2 separate regions of the Homo sapiens genome follow, and region 2 is linked to region 1. Evidence: promoter capture Hi-C in human tissues and cell types (Jung and others, 2019). All regions are on one chromosome and are shown on one strand. The core of a region is centred on a gene start or on the middle of the fragment in contact, and the rest is flanking DNA. Distances in the headings are between cores, read along the strand shown.

The links. The method cuts DNA at HindIII sites, captures the fragments that hold promoters and counts their contacts. A contact is called where the count stands out against the background at its distance.
Region 2: a contact is called between a fragment that was not itself captured here and the fragment with the promoter of RAB39A in region 1, in 1 of the 25 tissues and cell types used here (spleen).

What each region holds. Positions count from the first base shown.
Region 1 is chr11:107,926,632-107,930,150 of GRCh38, forward strand. It overlaps RAB39A (RAB39A, member RAS oncogene family), which reads left to right and starts at 1,817. Exons shown (of 2, transcript NM_017516.3): 1 at 1,817-2,164. The coding sequence starts at 1,938. RefSeq lists silencers at 1,553-2,042, 2,073-2,292. The HindIII fragment of the contact is 22,665 bases long and covers 1-3,519 here.
Region 2 is chr11:107,623,330-107,626,848 of GRCh38, forward strand. The region is part of intron 2 of ELMOD1 (ELMO domain containing 1); the gene reads left to right. Among named protein-coding and RNA genes, the nearest start is that of ELMOD1, 34 kb to the left of the region's middle. The HindIII fragment of the contact is 3,491 bases long and covers 257-3,519 here.

The DNA.
Region 1 (3,519 bases), core at 567-3,066:
CTGGTCTTGAACTCCTGACCTTGTGATCCACACACCTCGGCCTCCCAAAGTGCTGGGATTACAGGCATGAACTACTGCACCCGGCCATTTTTGTAGTTTTAATAAAGACGAAGTTTCGCCATGTTGGCCAGGCTGGTCTCGAACTCCTGACCTCAGGCGATCTGCCCGCCTCGTCCTCCCAAAGTGCTGGGATTACAGGCGTGAGCCACTGCGACCGGCCTAAACACACACTTTTATTTATTTATTTATTTTCTTTGAGATGGAGTTTCGCTCTTGTTGCCCAGGCTGGAGTGCAATGGCACGATCTCAGCTCATCACAACCTCTGCCTCCCGGGTTCAAGCAATTCTCCTGCCTCAGCCTCCCGAGTGGCTGAGATTACAGGCATGCACCACTACGCCCGGCTAATTTTGTATTTTTAGTAGAGACGGGGTTTCTCCATGTTGAGGCTGGTCTCGAACTCCTGACTCAGGTGATCCACCCGCCTCAGCCTCCCAAAGTGCTGGGATTACAGGCGTGAGCCACCGCGCCCGGCCTAACACACACTTTTAAACTGTTTCACTTTTTAAAGATAAACCTTGACGTCACTATTACTCAATTTGAGGAAAGGCACAAGAAAGTAGTAAGATCTCACCAGAATTTAAGTTCTGCTTTGTTTACTTACATCATTAATCAGACATGAGCTAAGAGACCACCTGTTCGCTTTTTTCTGACTTAAACAATGGAGACCAAGGAGAGCTGAAAATTTCATGAGCTTCTCAACATTTCCCCGGCTTTTTTTTTTTTTTTTTTTTTTGCCACTGTCCCCAGGGTTGGAGGGCCCCAGAGGGTATGGGGATGATACTTGGCGTTTCTCACTCTTCTGTGGTACTCATAGCAGTGAAGAACAGACAGTGGCAGCACGCAGCAACAGCCAGAGCCCTTGCTAGAAGCACCCAGAACTGGCTGTGCAAATTTATTTCAATCCTGCCCAAAACTCCTTCACCTTAAAATGCCTTGGAGGTGGCTCTCATCAAGACAAGAAAGCAGGGTGTGGTGGCTCACACCTGTAATCCCAGCACTGGGAGGCTGAGCCTGGAGGATCACTTGAGGTCAGGAGTTCGAGACCAGCCTGGGCAACACAGCAAGACCCCATCTCTACAAAAAGTTAGAAAATTAGCGGGATGTGGTGGCCCCCGCCTGTAGTCCCAGCTACTCAGGAGGCTGAGGTGGATGGATCGCTTGAACCTAGGAGTTTGAGACCAGCCTAAGCAACATAGCGAGACCACATCTCTAAAAAAAAAATTTTTTTTTAACCCAGAAGAAAATTAGCCAGGTGTGATGGCTCACACCCGTGGTCCCCGCTGCTTGGGAGGCTGAGGTGGGCAGATCGCTTGAGGCTGCAATGAGCCGAGATCTCACCACATCAATCCAGCCTGGGGGACAAAAAAAAAAGAGGAATCAAAGCAATGACCCAAGTTATGGCCTCAGGGACTTCCAAAATCAGAGCCCTAATCTGACCAACCCGCCCTGACGCCTGTAAGAAAACGACTCTCACTTTTCATTGGCTGACCCTCCCGGAGTTGAGACCTTGCTTCATTTTCCTTGGTTGTTGCTGCTGTCACGTCTTCCCGCCACGCCCACTTTCCTGCCGGCGCCCAGTGAGCGTTGAGGGAGAGTGATTTGCAGCCGGTCAGGGGCGGGAGTTCGCGGCAGCAAACCTGCTTCCCCCTCCCACGCGCCACCGCCCCCGCCCCGCCCCCGTCCAGAGGCCCCGCCCCTAGCCGGGCCTGGCCCCGCCTCTCTCTCCCGAGAGGGCGGGCACCAGGCGGCGGCCGCAGCCGCAGGAATATGCTGGAAGGCGGCGGGCGGGCGCCCGCGAGGTGCTGAAAGGACAGTTCCCGCCGCCGAACTTAGCCCGCGGGTGGGGCGGCCCGGGAGCCAGCGGGGCACGTGAGCGATGGAGACCATCTGGATCTACCAGTTCCGCCTCATCGTGATCGGGGACTCCACCGTGGGCAAGTCCTGCCTCCTGCACCGCTTCACCCAGGGCCGCTTCCCCGGGCTGCGCTCCCCCGCCTGCGACCCCACCGTCGGCGTGGACTTCTTCTCCCGCCTGCTGGAGATCGAGCCGGGCAAGAGGATCAAGCTACAGCTCTGGGACACGGCGGGACAGGAGCGGTTCAGGTAGGGACCCCGGGGACCTTGGGCACCGCGCCGCCCCCTCAGCCCGCCCGGACGCCCCTTCCCCAGGCGTCCGCCCCGCCGGCCCTGGTCGGGAGAGGCTCTGGCCCTTCCCTCTCGAAAGTGCAAACACTCCATTCTCGCTTCCCCTTTGCCCCTCCTCTTCCAGGGACGACTTCCTCCTCCGCAATTTCTCACTTCTTTCTTTGGCGCCCATTTCCTGCGCCCCCTTTCCATCTTTCCTTTCCCGCCTGAACCGGGGTCGTCCTCGCCGCCCCCTCTTCCCCAACTCTTTCAGCCCCTGTGGGTATTTTTATCCCCTCCGGCTCCCCGGCTGCCTTCTTCCCAAACTCGGCTTCCCTGGCTGCGCACAGCATGACCCGACCACCCTCCTCCAAGCAGGCGCCCCTTTTCCTACCCTAACCCAGCGGCTCCCACGCTGTGTGGCCGGGGAGAACCGCGAGGGAGGGTTCCCAGATTCGTGATGGATCCTTTAGCTTCACAGCAAGGAGCGCTCCAACCCAGGTTCCTGCATGAGCTCACTGGGCATGGTTCACAGAGAGGTGGATGCGGTAATGGTTTGGGCACCTCACAGCACTGAATGTGGTCATCAGAAATACTGGGTCATGACCCGTGGGAATGGGTCTTGTAGGTTAACTAGATGCAACATCAGGGACACTGGCACAGCTGAGGGTGTGTGTGTGTGTGTGTGTGTATGTGAAGGGTTGAGTTGTCTTTAGAAGTTTGTCATGTTTGGTGGGAAAAAGACATATATTGAGATTCGCCAGGAACTTTAATTTTGCTTATGATCAGTACTTAACGTTCCAGGGTGATAATATTTCTAAAGACAGAAGGAGGGATCCAAATGAATAGTCTCCTCCTAAATATCCGCTGGGGACATGAAGGGTTTCACAAAGGCGACTTGTGTAAATAAAAAGTAAATGAAATTATATGCATTTCCTGAATATTTGAGATGGAAGCAGGTTTAAAGCAAATTTTAAATGTCTAGGATTCAAAGGCACTTCGTTTTAGAGGAAGATGGTGAAACTGATGTATTGTACTGTTCTGTTTCTTAAAGACTGCATTATCCATTGGAACTCATTTAAGGAAGCATTTTGCGTTAGTCAGCAAGTACTCTGCTTGTGAAATGCAGTGTTCCATGAGGGGACTTCCCAAACATGGCTTCCCCTCGCCCCCAGCCAGCATCACTGCGAATGAGATCAGCCTACATCTGTGAGAATGGTCCAACATTCAAAGTTTTGGCTTCCGTTCCTAGCAATGATGCTGATTCATAGAGATAATGAGTGAACTGCTTAGCTTGCTTATACCTTAGTTTTCGTGTGTGTGAAGTGGAAAGA
Region 2 (3,519 bases), core at 752-3,251, 300 kb before region 1:
TTGTCCGAGATCCTCTGGGAGCTGGATCACGTACATCCCAGCTCTCCCGCCCCTTGGCTTTCCCTCAGCTTTTCAGGGCCAACTCTTTGGCCACTTCACTGTTTGTTAAGCTCTTCCCGCAGAGCATGAGCAATATACCCGAAAGCCACGGGCACTCAATAAATGTTAGTTTGAATTTCATTCATTTACTCATTGGAATTTTCACTTTTGTACTGAAGTGAGGAAAGCACGCTGATTTTCCAGGCTGTTCTGTCTGTCTCTGTGGGATGGTGGAGCTGGCTTTCCTGTCCAACCTGAGAGGAACGTACTGTCTCTCTCTCCTCTGCCTCTCCAACACCCTGGGTGTTTTGCTTTTATAGAATTGTCACACTGTTTTTCAACTTTCTGTTTTTACTGTCCTTTTCCTTGCTAGACTACAAGCTCCTTGTGGACAGGGAGGTCATATGGCTTGCTGTGAAAATAAGTTCTTGACTCATGTTCACTTTTTCCACTGCCATATCTCCCACTCTCATTTCTTCTGTACTGCACGGTCAGTCTTATTTTGTATTTGGCTCTATGAAGGAATAAATAAAATAAATTGAAATACCTTTCAATTGTCATTTTTCATTTCCCCCCAACTTATTTCAAATCTCTTTCTTTCAGCTGCTCTAGGTCTTTAACAAAAATTAATTTGTTCACAATACTGAGCATGTCCTCTAACTAGGTTGTTTAAATTTTTTTTGAATTATATTATGTAGCAAATTTATAATAATAACAGGCCTATTTCTTATCCCCTATAGAATATTTTGAACCCTATAATTGATGATGGAGCATGAATAATACCTTTGATGACTTTATTTATATGTTTACTTAATTTGGGTTGCCTTAAAAATATTTTTATTTACCAATAAAAGTTTATATTTGAGGTTGCATTTAAATACTTTTAAAATGTCAAAGTATAATGTGTTATAATGTGTTCATTGTTTCTCCTTATAAATAAGTCAATAAAAGTATTATCCAAAGAGTAAAACATAACCTGATTTTAAAAAATAAATCTTGTAGCCAGGCACGGCGGCTCATGCCTATAATCCTAGCACTTTGGGAGGCTGAGGCAGGCAGATTGCTCAAGCCCATGAGTTCAAGACCAGCTTGGGCAACACAGCAAGACCCCATCTTTATAGAAAATACAAAAATTAGCTGAGCATTGTGGCGCGTACCTGTAGTCCCAGCTACAGGGGAGGCTGAGGTAGGAGGACCACCTGAGCCCAGAGAGGTCGAGGCTGCTTCAGCCTAGGCAACAGAGTAAGACCGTGTCTTGACAAATAAATAAATAGAAATAAATCTTATAAAGTGTATTTAATCATCAAAATTTTGGTTGAATAATGTTGTTGTTAGTAAATTAAGAGAAACCTGTACCTCCTTTTCTTTGAAAGGAAAGGGTTACACTATTAATTAATTTATTTTAATTATTACACAATCAACTAGTGCTCTCTAAGCCTTCAGATACAATTTCCCTGGAATATATTATAAAAAGAGTGCCCTTTGCTACAGCAGTATAATTTTGAATAACATTGATCTATGATAGATATATAACCACCAATCCCCTTAATTTTTACTTTTTCGGAAGTTAGTGTGATCTCTTCAGAAAAAGAATAATGTGAAAAAACCACAGGGCCCCACACTATCTGGGCGTGGGATCTTGGAACCTCTCCCCTGCTCTACAGGAAGGAAATACTCTTGTTTTCCTAGAGACCCACGGATGGTTTCTTTGTGTGATTTCACATTTCCAGTTCATGTACCAAGTCCTCTGCAGCCTCTCTTCCTAGTAGAGAGCTCTTATACGGATGGTCCCATTTACTAGGCAAAGTACCTATTGATAAGTTAATTCCCAACCGATTGTCAGTGCCCCTACTTAGGAACTTCAGTGGAGCAACTAAATGATCTGTCGGGGACATTGAGCCGCTTGCTCTTCTTTATGACATTTAGATGAAAAGTATTTCATTTGGGAAACTGTGGTTTGAACCAAGAACTGTGATTATTTTTGTACATATCTTTCATCAACAATAGTGTACTTTTTATTTATTACAGGATTTCTTCAAGCAAGAATTAACTTTCATTAGCACATTCATTGAAACTGTTCAAAATAAGCCACTTTTCTCTTACTGTTCCAAAAGAAGACGTCAGAGTCACAAATTTAGGATGATGGCATAGTGTTGCATTACAGGTACCCACACCCCCTCACCCCACAGGCAAGGGGCTACATGGTTTTAGGCGCATTTCCTGTTTTGAAAGCCCCATCCCTCCTGAATGGATTCCTCTAACAAAGCGCCACAAGACCGGAGGTTGCTTTTGTTTGGTAGCAGAGATATGATCCATTTCGAATAATTTACATTGGGTGGCTATTCTGGTTCAAACTAGAGAATGAATGTTAAATAATAAACGTGATCATAATTGCTTTATGGAAGAACACTGCTGTGAACTCAGCCATAAACATCACTCTGCAGCATATTAATAAAAGGCAGTAACAGAAAAGATTGGAAATGGAGCATGTGTAGTAGCTCTTATTATTGAATCAGATTCTCCCAGTGTTTAAGCAAGGCATTCATCTTAGGAAGCTACAGTAACTCTTTCTGGAACACTATCAAAAAGCTGTGATTAAAAAACAGAAATAAACAAAAAAACTGCTGCCTATGCATGTAGTTATTAGAAAGAGGAGGTGGTGATCAGTATTTTCTCCATCTAGTCTTGAGGATTTAATTGTTGTTCCTACAAAATCTAACAGATTATTTTTAGTAGTGAGTCAAGAATCTTCCATCAAAATGAAGAAAACTAAGTCTAGTGTTATGAAGAAGAAAAGCGAATATTGCCCAATTAAAACTAAGCTTATTGGTTTCCTGATTCAGCCTAGGAGGGAAAGGAGCAGAGCCATAAACCCCCTGAGCAGAGGGTTCAGAAGGTGAGGAGGGTGTGAAACAGGAGGTTGAGATTAGTGCTGGTACAAGAGACAGTAAGTGGGTTCTGTCTCACAGGTACATTTGAAATGCCTCCTCCCAAAGCATGCAGTCATGAAAAAAAAAAAAAAAAAGGACATAAAACAAATGAAATTAAAAGGAGGAAAGGGTACAATGAATCCCAAAATCCTTAAACTCAAATAAGAAACAGATACACCTTTTCTTTCTCCCTTCCTTATTCTCTTCCTTCCTCTCTCCCTCTGTTCCTCCCTCCTGTCCCTCCCTTCCCTCCTGTCCCCCACTTCCCCTTCCCCTTCCCTTCCTTCCTTCTTTCCTTCTTATCTTCTTTCCTTCTTTCTTTCTTTCCTTCTTTTCTTTCCCTCTCTCTTTCTTTCTTTTTCTTTCTTTCTTTCTTTCCTAAACAACCACTGATTAGCTCAAGAGCATTTACAGATCTATTTCTTTATTGCTTCCTTTAAAGGGTAAACATGTCAAACCAATATAACATTCTCTCAAAATAGTTAATCATTTTTATTGTTCTGCTTTTGATCCTCAGCAGTTTTTTCCATAAACTTTGTGATTTAGGGAC